3 separate regions of the Homo sapiens genome follow, and all the other regions are linked to region 3. The links are contacts of gene promoters, found by promoter capture Hi-C in blood cells and fetal thymus (Javierre and others, 2016). All regions are on one chromosome and are shown on one strand. Each heading gives the region's core, a stretch centred on a gene start or on the middle of the fragment in contact. The rest is flanking DNA. Distances are from core to core; before and after follow the strand shown.

Region 1 (4,236 bases), core at 1,542-4,041, 250 kb before region 3:
TTTTCGTATTTTTAGTAGAGACGGGGTTTCACCGAGGTCTCGATCTCCTGACCTCGTTATCCCCCAGTCTCTGCCTTCCAAAGTGCTGGGATTATAGGCATGAGCCACCGCACCCGGCCTTGTTTGATATATTTTAATTACTCCTGATTACCGAATATTTTTTATGCCTTTGTTTCCTCTTTTGTGAGCCATTTTTTTGTCCTTTTTCTTTTCTGAGACAGGGTCTTGCTGCTGCCTAGGTGGGAATGCAGTGGTATGATCACAGCTCACTGCAGCCTCTACCTCCTGGGCCCAAGAGATCTTCTGGCCTCAGCCTCCCAAGTAGCTGGGACTATAGTAGGCAGGTGCCACCTCACTCAGCTAATATTTTATTTTTTGTAGAGATGGAGTCTCATGTTGTCCAGGCTGGTCTCAAATTCCTGGACTCAAGCAATCCTCTTCCCTCAGCCTCCCAAGGTGCTAGGATTATAGGTGTGAGCCTATTCTTAGATCTAAAATTATTAATTAGCACCCTACTAATTTTTTTGTCTTAATTATCAAACTATGTTTAATAAAAGCAACATATTACCCTTCTTACGTATTTGCTACAAGTACTTCTAGTTGGTATTCCTTTGAATTTTATTTTTTTGTTGTTGGGGAGTATTATCAAAAAAAATCAACTGATCTTCTTGTGTGATTTTTATTAGTTCTAGATTTACAAAGATCTATGTTAGTATTTATTTTCTTCTGGTTTTCTTTTAAAAAATTACTTGTGGGCCAGGCACAGTGGCTCACACCCGTAATCCCAGTATTTTGGGAGGCCAAGGCGGGTGGATCACCTGAGGTCAGAAGTTCGAGACCAGCCTGGCTAACATGGTGAAACCCCTTCTCTACTAAAAATACAAAAAATTAGCCAGGTGTGGTGGCGCGCGCCTGTAATCCCAGCTACTTGGGAGTCTGAGGCAGGAGAATCACTTGAACCTGGGAGGTGGAGGTTGCAGTGAGCCGAGATTGTGCCATTTTTTTTTTTTTTTGAGACGGAGTCTTGTTCTGTTGCCAGGCTGGAGTGCAGTGACACGATCTCAGCTCACTGCAACCTCTGCCTCCCACATTCAAGTTATTCTCCTGCCTCAGCCTCCTGAGTAACTGAGACTACAGGTGAACGCCACCATACCCAGCTAATTTTTGTATTTTCTATTTTTTTTTTTTGAGACGGAGTCTTGCTCTGTCGCCCAGGCTGGAGTGCAGTGGCGCGATCTCGGCTCACTGCAAGCTCTGCCTCCCGGGTTCATGCCATTCTCCTGCCTCAGCCTCTGGAGCAGCTGGGACTACAGGTGCCCGCCACCACGCCCGGCTAATTTTTTGTATTTTAAGTAGAGACGGGGTTTCACCGTGTTAGCCAGGATGGTCTCGATCTCCTGACCTCATGATCCGCCCGCCTCAGCCTCCCAAAGTGCTGGGATTACAGGAGTGAGCCACCGCGCCAGGCAAATGTTTAGGTTTTATAATAACATCCTAAGTTTAGGCATCTACATCTCTACCTGCCTGGACTAAAAGCTTGGCTTCTATTCTATTGCACGCAGAACGCTGAGACAACAGGGGGAGATGTCCACTCTTAGGGTTACCCCAGACTCCACCGATCCAACAGGCACCACCCCTGAATGCTTACTTTCTCTGCAGTGCGGTTCCAGACAGTCACTGTGTGACCCATTTTTAGCAAGTTGGAGACGATTCCACTTCCCATGAGACCAAGGCCCAAAAATCCTATCCTGAAACAGAGAGAGACTGATGAGTTCAGGGTGGAAAGGGAGGGTCACGGTGATGATGATTCCATGCAGCACAAGGCTCGCTCCCTTATACAGCTTGGGGTAGGGGAATTCAGACTGCCAGAAACAGCAGTGGCCAATCTACCTGCAGAGCCAGGGGCGTCATGCACATGGGTCTTCTCTTATGCCATGGTCTAAAGCTGTCCCAGGATGTAAACAGGCATTTTGAAACCCCTGACTGTCACAGAAAAAAGTATGATGTGTATGGTTCAGGGCCAGTCTCCCAGGGCAAAGTCCCCTTGCTGCCCTTTTTTTTTTTTTTGAGACAGTCTTGCTCTGTTCCAGGCTGGAGTGCAATGGCGCGAGCTCAGCTCACTGCAACCTCTGCATCCTGGGTTCAAGCGATTCTCCTGCCTCAGCTTTCTGAGTAGCTGGGATTACAGGCGCACGCCACCATGCCCAGCTAATTTTTGTATTTTTAGTAGAGACAGGGTTTCACCATGTTGGCCAGGCTGGTCTCAAACTCCTGACCTCGTGATCTGCCCACCTCGGCCTCCCAAAGTGCTCGGATTACAGGCGTGAGCCACCATGCCCGGCCTCACACTTTACTTATTTTTTGAGATAGTGTCTTGTTCTGTTGCCCAGGCTGCAGTGTAGTGGTGCAATCATGGCTCACTGCAGCCTCGACCTCCTGGGCTCAAGTAATCCTTCCCCCTCAGCCTCCTGGGTAGCTGAGACTACAGGCATCTGTCAGCACACCTAATTTTTTGTGGAGATGGGCTTTTGCCATGTTACCCAGGCTGGTCTTGGACTCCTGGGCTTAAGGGATCCGCCCACCTCAGCCTCCCAAAGTGCTGGGGTTGCAGGTGTGAACCACTGCACCCGGCTCTGGATACTACTTTAAAGCCCAACAGAATCCACCACAAGTCACTGAAGCACTGTGTTTAGAGCCAGGCAACTTCCTTGACTGCATGAACCAGGACGGCAATTTTCACCTCTCTTTCCCAACTTCAATTCTCTACCCACACCCTACCTTTCCCGTCTTCCCGTTATCAACAGAATGGGCCTTGCCTCTCCTCTCCAAAGCTAAGTCCTTCACCTGAGCTTGGAACCCAATCTTTCCCAGTCCACAAATCCTTCTCCCCATGCCTGCCTTCCCCCAAACCTCTCACTGTTCCCCCAGCCCTTCCTTCCACAGGTCCTTCCCAATCCTTGTGACAGAAGCACTCATTGGCCAGTCTCCTCCACACACATTCACATACTCCGCCTGCTCCTTCCTGCAACCCTGAGAGCTGGGGGCTGGATGCCACTGCTGCTATTTCAACATGCTTTTACGGATGACTTTTAGCTTGCCAAAGTGTCTTTTCTTGATTCTTGTACTTCTTCACCTCTCTTTGCAAGTGACAATGGTGCAAAAGAATGCCTTTCCTCATTTCTGATCATATCATGTTCTTGTTTTTATAGTTTTTAATTTTTATTTATTTATTTATTTAAAAAGAGAGATGGGGGGGTCTTGCTATGTTGGCTAGGCTGGTCTCGAACTTTTGGTATCAGGCAATCCTCTCACCTCAGCCTCCCAAAGTGTTAGGATTATGGGCGTGAGCCACTGCACCCAGCCTTTTTTCTTTTTTTAGTGACAGCATTATGCTGTCTCCCAGGCTGGAGTGCAGGGGGGTGATCATAGCTCACCGCAGCCTCAAACTCCTGGGCTCAAGTGATCCTTCCACCTCAGTCCACCTGAGCAGCTAGGACTATAGGTGCATGCCACCATGTCTGGCTAAGTTTTAAAATTTTTTTGTAGAGACGGGGTCTTGCTGTATTTCCTAGGCTGGTCATGAACTCCTGGCCTCAAGGGATCCTTCTGCTTTGGTCTCCCAAAGTGTGGGGATTACAAGGATGAGCTACTGCGCTTGGCCATGTTTTCAATTCAGAAATTCTCTGACTGCTGGATGTCCCCGGCAGCTCCTCCACTTTGACCCTGTCATTCTTTCCATAGTTTTGGTCTTCTGGAACCATCTCTACAAATGGACCCCTAATCTCAGCTGGAATATCAGCTGCTCACATTCTCCCTGTCCCAGCCTGTATTAAGTAATTTGAATCACATGTTGAAAATGGAACCCACCAACTTTCTCACCAAAATAGACCTCCTTGCTAACTGCTTCAAGTTGTGGCTTAAAAACAAGGAGGTACCTTTTTGTCACTCATTATTTGGGTAGTACAATATTCCCCCATGATTCTAAATCATGACAGGCGAATTCCCTTTCCTTTCTTGGTGTTCTAGGAAGTCCAGTAGACCTGGGATAAAGCTTCTGGATTTTTTTGAGACACAGTCTCGTTCTGTTGCCCAGGCTGGAGTGCAGTGGTGCGATCTTGGCTCACTGCAACCTCCACCTCCCGGGTTCAAGCGATTCTCCCACCTCAGCCTCCCAAGTAGCTGGGATTAAAGGCACCCACCATCATGCCTGGCTAATTTTTGTAGAGACAGGGTTTC
Region 2 (4,367 bases), core at 1,286-3,785, 150 kb before region 3:
TAACTGGGCATCTCATATTTTATTTGCTAAATCTGGTAACTCCACCTGCAGGCCGATGCTGGCACCATCTCTGTCACTGACTCATCATCCCAGCCCCTTCTAAACCTCAGTTGCTCCAGGGTACAAAACAGGCATCAACCCAATCGCACCGGGCTGGCGCTGGTGGAAGGTTTAAAGAGAAGGTGACCATTCCAGCGGCTCGTGAGTCCCTCAGGGTACAGAGGCTTCATGCCGTTGAGTCCACTGGGCAGTTGTTATCCCCATGTTACAGAAAGGGAAACTGAGGCACAGATAGGGGAAAGTGATTTGCCCAGCTATTTTATCTCTCTTCTCCAAAAAAGGTGGAGAAAGACCTGCACCCTGAGTGCTGGCAGCAGTAGGATGAGCAGTGAGAATGATATTGACGATAATAGCCCTGTCCTATACCTGCATAATCTCATTTAATCTTTACAACCACCCCGCCAAATGGGAACCATCACTCCTGCCTGCTTAGAGAGAATCTCGTTCATGGGGAGGTGGGATGGCTCACTTGTCCAAGGTCACCCAGCAAGGACAAGGCTGGGCTGTTTCCATAGAGCCTGACCCCATGGCACTCCTCCAGGCAGGAGACGCTTTCCACAGGGCCCAGGAAGAGGGAGGAACTTAGTATCCGGGAGGTACTAGTATTAACGACAATGGCCAGGTTCCTCTCACAGAGCAGGGCTTCCTGACCTTGGCACCCCTGCCCTACAGTGCACGGTAGGGTGTTCAGCAGCATCCCTGTCTCCCCTCCCCAACTGGACGCCAGGAGGACCTTCCTTCCAAGCAGTGACAACCAAAATGTCTCTGCATGTTCCCTCGGGGCCACAATCACCCCTGGGTGAGAATCACCGATTCCAAACAGATCCTGGTCCTGAACAGGGCTGGCAGCACGGGGCACCCAGGTGGGAGTGGGAGTGGGGGCACTCACACTCTGCATCTTGGCCTCTGTGTCCACGATGTTCTTCTCCACCTGGTCGGCATTCTTCTGCAGCTGCTCGATCAGCTCCGAGAGCTCCTTGTTAGAGATGCTGCGGGCAGAAGCCGAGGGGAGATGGGCGGGGTGCCTGGTGGGTGGGGGCTATGTCCCCACCAGCACCCCATCCTCTGGCTGGCCCCGGCCCCACGCTCTGAGCAGGAGCTGCCCACAGAGCCTTTGAGGTAGTTGGGCTGTTCCCATAGGGCAACATCACTAAAGCCACAGAGACAAGGCAGCGCCTGGCAGGCGGTCAGCCTCCTTTTTTTTTTTTTTTTTTTTTTTGAGATGGAGTCTTGCTCTGTCACCCAGGCTAAAGTGCAGTGGCGTGATCTCAGCTTACTGCAACCTCCACTTCCTGGGTTCAAATGATTCTCATGCCTCAGCCTCCCCAGTAGCTGAGATTACAAGCATGCACCACCAAGCCTGGCTAATTTTTGTATTTTTAGTGGAGATGGGGTTCCACCATGTTGGCCAGGCTGGTCTTGAACTCCTGACCTCAAGTGATCCACCTATCTTGGCCTCCCAAAGTGCTGGGATTACAGGCGTGAGCCACCGCGCCCGCCCAGCCTCCACTTTGATCATTCTCTCTAATGCTTCTATTTTTTATTTTTATTCATTCATTCGTTCATTCATTCATTCATTCATTCATTTTATTGAGACGGAGTCTCACACTCTTGCCCAGGCTGGGGTGTAGCGGCACAGTCATGGCTCACTGCAGCCTCTATCTCCCAGGCTCAAGCAATCCTCCTAGCCCAGCCTCCCAAGTAGCTGGGACTACAGGCACATGCCACCACTCCTGCATAACTTTTACATTTCTTTTGGTAGAGAAGGGGTTTCACCATGTCACCCAGGCTGGTCTCGAACTCCTGAGCTCAAGCAATTCGTCCACCTTGGACTCCCAAAGTGCTGGGATTACAGATGTCAGCCACCAGGCCCCGACTACATATTTTTTTGTGAGAGATAGGGTCTCACTCTGTCACCCAGACTGGAGTGCAGTGGCGTGATCATAGTTCACTATAGCCTCGAACTCCTGAGCTCAAGCAATCCTCCTACCTCCACCTCCTGAGTAGCTGGGACCACTGGCACCACCAGCACACCCAGCTTCTAATGCTTCTATTTTGCCATGTTGGCAAAACGCACCATATTTGAAAAATTGGGAGATAACTCACATACCGTAAAATTCACCTGTTTAAAATACACAGTCACTGGCTTTTAGTACTACACATTCAGAATCGTGCAACCATCACCACTATCTCATTCCAGACATTTTTATCACCCCAAAGCTCCACACCCACAAGCTGTCACTCCCTATTCCCCACCCGCTCCAGCCCCTGGCAACCAGGAATTTACTTTTTCTCTCTATGGATTTGCCTATTCTGGACATTTCATATAAATAGAATCACACAACACGTGGCCTTTTGCGTCTGCCTTCTCTCAGCATAATGTTTTCAAGCTTTGTGCATATTGCAGCATCTATTAGAACTTCATTCTTTTTATGGCTGAATAATATTCCATCACGTGGCTACTTCACATTTTGCTTATTCATTCAACAGCTGACAACCATCTGGGCCGTTTCCACCTTTGGGCCATCGTGAGAATCACGCTGCTATGAACGTTCGGGAACAAGCTTTTGTGTGAGCAGTCTTATTTTTAATTACCTGATATTTTTCTTTCAACCTACTCGTTTTATTTTAGAGTTAAATGTGTTTACAAAGGTAACTTCTCTCCCCATTTTAATCAGAAATCAGAAGCCCTCACCATGAGTGAATTAGCTGCCAAAATAAATTTCATGGGAACGCAGTGGCACTGGGTTCCGTGGTGACACTGGGCTGCCCGCTGTTACAAGTCAGGAGGTGTGACAGCCGTGGTGGCGTCAGGCCCAGCCTTTCTCCTGATCTTCTCAGAGCGCCTGAAAGAGACTTGAGGCCCGGTGTGGTGGCTCATACCTGTAATCCCAGCACTTTGGGAGGCCAAGGCGGGCGAATCACCTGAGATCAGGAGTTTGAGACCAGCCTGGCCAACATGGTGAAACCCCATCTCTACTAAAAATACAAAAATTAGCTAGGTGTGGTGGCATGCGCCTGTAGTCCCAGCTACTCGGGAGGCTGAGGCAGGAGAACTGCTTGAACCTGGGAGGTGGAGGTGGCAGTGAGCTGAGATTGCACCACTGCACTCCAGCCTGGGTAACAGAGCGAGACTCCATCTCGAAAAAAAAAAACAAGAAAAGAAAAAAAAGTCTTGAAAGCAGACTGGCCCTCTCCCTCACTGTCTCTGTGTCCCCTCCTGTCACATTTGTCTACTGCCCCCCGTCCCCCAGAACCACAGACAGACCACTCTGGAAAATGCTCTAATGGGAGTTAGTTAAGACTTTGGCCCTGGGGTTAGCTGTGGGTTCAGATCTTGGCTCCCATCAGCCACTTAGTGGCTGTGTGACTTGGCCCAGCTCCCTTGCCTATCTGTGCCTCTGTCTCCCAATCCGATGGACTAGAGTAACAGTCCTTTCCCGGGGCCAGGGTGGCAGGGGTTATGAATGGAAGTGAGGTTACACTACCAAAGGACTGTGCATAGAGCCGGGCACAGAATAAGTCTGAACAAAGGTTTGTGATTTTAGTTGTCAAGGAGCCTTAGAGATCACCCAGCTCTGCCTCTGTGGTTTTGAGACCGAGTCTCACTCTGTCACCCAGGCTGGAAGTGCAGTGGTATCATCTTGGCTCGCTGCAACCTCCACTTCTTGGGGTCAAGTGATTCGGCTGCCTCAGCCTTTTGAGTAGCTGGGATTACAGGTGTGAGCCACCATGCCCAGCCTCCTTCTGTTGTTTTCTTTAAACAAAGAAAGAAAGGGAAACCAACTTGGCCATTGTCACCCAGTTAGCCAGCGATGATAGCTCCCCTGTCTCCACTGAAGACCCACAGTGGGGCCTGAGTGGCTAGGCACGCAGAAGTTGCCTTCTACTCACACTCATTAAGCACCTGCTGTGTGCGGGCCCTGCACCTCACAAAGACAAGCCTCTCCCTCCCTGATCCACCCCACAGACCAGGAGGAAATCAGTATTTATAGAAACAGTCACGAGACTGAGGCAGGCCTGGAGGCTGGGGATGCCCAGGGGAACCTCTGGACTGGCTGGGTGGGGACAGCGGTGGTCACTGAAGGCTTCCTGGAGGAGGTGGTGTCGGCTGGGTGCTAAAGCAAAAGGAAGAATTTGGTGTTCCTGTGCAGAAGGCTCCAATGAGGACACGCCATAGAGAGAGGCAGGTCCTGGCACGTCCCGTGGGGTGGGCCAGGGCGGGGTTCTTGACCGTCAAGGCAGAGGGGACCACCAGCCCTTTCGAGTGATGCTCCCCAGATCAAGGTTCTGGGGCCTAGCATGAA
Region 3 (4,427 bases), core at 1,540-4,039:
GTGAGAGCATTCACGCAGGGCTGAGAGGGCGAGGGATGAAGTGGGGCAGCTGCAGTCAGGTAGGAACCTTGTTAGGGAGGATGGGCTAGGTTAAGAAGGATGCTGAGGTAGTCCTCCAGGGCGACCGGCTCTGGCACGCCCCCTCTGCTCAGCCCCCTCCATGGGCAAACCCGCAGGGAAGAAGTAAAGGCTTGGGAGTGCTGACAGGGAGGGGCTCCCTGTGTGTCAGAGTGTCTCCTCCTGTGATTGCACCGGGTCTACAAAGTCCAATAGGACAGGGGTCCCCAACCTCCAGTCCATTACTGGTCTATGGCCTGTTAGGAATGGGGCCGCACAGCAGGAGGTGAGTGGTGGGTGAGCGAGCTAAGCTGCATCTGTAATTTACAGCCACTCCCCATCATTCGCTGTCACTACCGCCTGAGCTCCGCCTGCTGTCAGATCAGTGGCTGCATTCGATTCTCACAGGAGTGTGAACCCTGTTGTGAATTGCACATACGAGGGATCTAGGCTGCACACACCTTATGAGGATCTAATGCCCGATGATCTGAGACCGTCTCCTATCACCCCCAGACGGGATTATCTACTTGCAGGAAAACAGTCTCAGGGCTTCAACTGATTCTACATTGTGGCGAGTTGTATAATTATATATTATAACATAATAACAATAAACAGAAAGTGGGCTGGGCACGGTGGCTCACGCCTGTAATCCCAGCACTTTGCGAGGCCGAGGCAGGTGGATTACTTAAGTCCAGGAGTTCAAGACCAGCATGGCCAACATGGTAAAACCTCATCTCTACCAAAAATACAAAAATTAGCCGGGCGTGGTGGTGGGTACCTGTAGTCCCAGCTATTTGGGAGGCTGAGCAGGAGAATCGCTTGAACCTGGAGGTGGAGGTTGCAGTGAGCTGAGGTGGCACCACTGCACTGCAGCCTGGGCGACAGAGCGAGACTCCGTCTCAAAATAATAATAATATAATAATAATAATAAATAAAAAATAAAGTGCACAATAAATTTAATGCACGTGAATTGTCCTGAAACCCTCCCCTCCACCTCAGTCCATGGAAAAATTGCTTTCCACAAAACCAGTCCCTGGTGTCAAAAAGGTTGGGGACCACTGCAATGGGACGTAGACCCTGCCCACTGGGAGCTCATTGTTTAGAGAGACACAGGTGAGGAAGCCGTTGCTGCTAGTCAAGGATGCTCAATGCTTTGATAGATGGAAACAGTAATGGCTGACAAGTACTGAGCCCCACTGGTAAGATGACATATACACACAATCTCATGAGACACATGTGCATGATCGTGTGATACTCCCATCCACCAGCTGCAGCTGAAGGATGAGGAAACCAAAACTCCACGAGAGCAGTTAACTCAGTGCCATGCAGCCAGTTGGGGGAGATCCAGGATTTGAACCTGGGCAGTCCAGTTCTGAAGCTCTGTTCTAGGCACTGGCACTGCCTTTGCTCCCTTCTGGGCACAGTTCACGGGTGTGGTTGTATTAAGCACTGAATTCCTAGGGAATCTGTTATGGAGCAAGATTATTGAGAGGAGAAGGGGCAGTGGATGTGGGATGTGGCGTGGGTGGAGAAGCCGGGCTCACTGCAGCTGCCAAGGAGTGGGGACCCTGGTCTGAGGCTGTTAGGTGGGGCCGCTTTCCCAGTGAATGCTGCCCAGTCATGATTAAGAGAACCCCCTCCCTTCTTTGCTAAAAGAGGATAATAATAATGGGTGTAACCTCAGGGATGACGGGGAGAGGGCACTGAAGTACCCCATGCAATGCACCTGGGTTGTGCCCACATTGAGCAGATACTTAGTGAACTACAGCTTTTGCTATCACATGCGCCCCAGGAAGCACCCAGCCCTGTGGGAGCCACCTGTGTGCTTGTGTGTGTGTGTGATATGCTTGTGTGCATGCGTGCATGCGTGCTTGTGTGTGTGATGTGCATGTGTGTGTGCGTGCGTGCATGTGTGCTTGTGTGTGTGTGCATGATGTGCGCATGTGTGTGTTTACCTTGGCCTGTCTCCAGCCCCCTTCTTGGGGATCTTATAGCTCTCAAAGCTAAACAAACACTTGACTGTTTTTGCAGAACCTTCAGGAGACTTTGGCTGCAAGTGGAGGAAGTGGGGTGGGAACCCGATCTTGAGGGTCCTCAGTTTTGTCCACAGCCACCTCATTCAAGGGGAGGGGTCTTCCCACAAATATCTGTTAACGGGGCACTCTCCCTGCTCCCCTTGTTCGTGGCGTTGTGAGGAGGGGCTGTCAAATGGATCATTTCATTCTGAGAAAAAGATAATTCCCAAATCCCTTCCCATGTTGCCTTTAAATCTTTCCTACTTCTAAAAAATTGCGTAACAGTTAGCTGGGCCACAGCCGCCAGGAAGATCCAGCCCCTGGCCTCCTCTCTCCTTATAGCCGAGGCAGGCTATACTGGGGCCAGGAGTCTGCCAGGTCCCAGGCGTACAGAGCAGGGCAGGGGACAAAGCTGAGAGCTAGCTTCCCAGTGTCCAGCCAGAGGAATTGGGGCTCACTCACCTTCCAGCACTCGGACCCCCACCATGCCATCCAGGTTGATTTCAGGCAGCCTCTGTTCTAGGAAGACGGTGGCTCTCTCCAGCGCAGACAGGATCAGGTCTGCAATGGTGGCTTTACTTTCAGCAGTGTCCAGCCCAGGCAGTGAGGAGGACCACAGCGGTGGCAGTGCTGTCAGTAAGAGCAGGAGCAGCAGCCCCAGGCTGGCCATGGCCGGCCTCTGCTCACTGCTGGTCACACGCTCAGCACCCTGAGCTCTGGCCAAGCCCAGACTGCCTCTGCACGCCCTCCTCCCACCTCCTTCCCACCTCCCCCTGGCAGACATGAAGACAAGTGGCCCGGCAGGGCTGCCAAGAAGCCTGGGGTGGCCTGGGCAAAGGACTCTGGGAAGGGTGGCTGCAGGGGGATGACGGTTAGGCAGCGGAGGTTAGGCCAGTCCTGGGCGTAGAGCCTGCTGTCCACGGGATGCTGGGGAGAGGGCTGCCCGCCCTGTCCTTCTCAGCCCTGATTCTCCAGGCTCACAGGCTAGATCTTTGATCTAGCAATTGCAATTCAACCCAGAAATCCAAAAGCTCTGAAAGCAAAACGAATTTTTTTTTCTTTGTTTTTTGAAATAGGGTCTCATTCTCTTGCCTAGGCTGGAGTGCAGTGGTTTGATCACAGCTCACTGTAGCCTTGACCTCCTGGGCTCAATAGATCCTCTTGCCTCAGCCTCCTGAATAGCTGGGACAATCGGCATGTGCCACCATGTTGCCTAATTTTTGTAGCTTTTTTTAATAGAGACAGGGTCTCACTATGTTGATCAGGCTGGTCTTGAACCGCTGGCCTCAAGCGAGCCACCTTCTTTGGGCTCCCAAAGTGCTGGGATTACAGGCTGGAGCCACCACACCCAGGCTTTGTTTTAAATAAATTTGAAACAAACTCATTTGAGGGCACGTCTGCCTTGAACTGAGGCAAACTTCCTTAAAGGGGCACCGTCCAATTGAAATAGAATTGGAGCTACAAAGATGAGCCATGTGTGCATTTCGAAATTTCCTAGTAGCCACATCTAAGAAAGCAGCAATAAGCAGGTGAAGTTAATTTTAACGATCTAGTTTATTTGACCCAGTTATTTAAAATATTATAATTACATCTGTAATCAATATAGAAATGATTTGTTTTTATTTTTGTCATACTAAGTCTTTGAAATTGATGAGTAGTTTATGTTCACAACACAATTGTTTTATTTTGTTATTTTATTTTTAAGAGACAGGGTCTCATTCTGTTGCCCAGGCTGGAGTGCAGTGATGTGGTCATAGTTCACTGCAGTCTCGAGCTCCTAGGCTCAAGGGACCCTCGCGCTTTAGCCTCCCAAGGAGCTGGCACTCCAGATGTAAGCCACCATGCCAGGCTAAGCACATTTCAATTCAGACTATCCATATTTCAGGGGCTTGATAGTCACATGTAGCTGGTATACTGGGCAGTGTCTTAGTTTTGTGCTACTACAACAGAATACCTGAGACTGAGTAATTTATAAAGAAAAGAAATTCATTTGGCTCATAGTTCTGGAGGCTGGGAAGTCCAGGTTCAAGGGGTTGCATCTGGTGGGGGTCTTCTTGCTATATCATCCCACGGTGGAGGGCAGAAGGGCACGAGAGCTGGAGAGAGAGAAGAGAAAGAAGCTAAACTCATTCCTTTATCAGGTACACGCTTTTGCAATAACAGCATGAATCCATTCATGAGGGCAGAGGCCTCATGAAAGATTCCATCTCTCAACACTGTTGCATTGAGAATTAAGGTTCCAACATACGAACTTTAGGGCACACATTCAAACCACAGCAGAGAGTGAGGACCTAGCGTCCTTATTGGTTTCATTCAGTGTGAATGCGCATCTGTTTCCTTGCAGAAATGTTAATG

Evidence for each region. Contacts are between HindIII fragments. The CHiCAGO score rates a contact against its expected background, and 5 or more counts as called.
Region 1: a contact is called between a fragment that was not itself captured here and the fragment with the promoter of C16orf89 in region 3, in 1 of 17 cell types (M2 macrophages). The highest score is 5.4, in M2 macrophages.
Region 2: a contact is called between a fragment that was not itself captured here and the fragment with the promoter of C16orf89 in region 3, in 2 of 17 cell types (M2 macrophages and naive CD8 T cells). The highest score is 5.3, in M2 macrophages.

Annotation. Positions count from the first base shown.
Region 1 is chr16:4,815,950-4,820,185 of GRCh38, forward strand. It overlaps GLYR1 (glyoxylate reductase 1 homolog), which reads right to left. Exons shown (of 16, transcript NM_032569.4): 10 at 1,649-1,748. Among named protein-coding and RNA genes, the nearest start is that of ROGDI, 15 kb to the left of the region's middle. The HindIII fragment of the contact is 2,515 bases long and covers 1,535-4,049 here.
Region 2 is chr16:4,909,901-4,914,267 of GRCh38, forward strand. It overlaps PPL (periplakin), which reads right to left. Exons shown (of 22, transcript NM_002705.5): 2 at 950-1,049. LOC124903637 (a long non-coding RNA gene) reads left to right here. Exons shown (of 3, transcript XR_007064965.1): 2 at 2,551-2,631. Among named protein-coding and RNA genes, the nearest start is that of PPL, 25 kb to the right of the region's middle. The HindIII fragment of the contact is 174 bases long and covers 2,449-2,622 here.
Region 3 is chr16:5,063,167-5,067,593 of GRCh38, forward strand. It overlaps C16orf89 (chromosome 16 open reading frame 89), which reads right to left and starts at 2,790. Exons shown (of 8, transcript NM_001098514.3): 1 at 2,535-2,790. The coding sequence starts at 2,742. The HindIII fragment of the contact is 15,659 bases long and covers 1-4,427 here.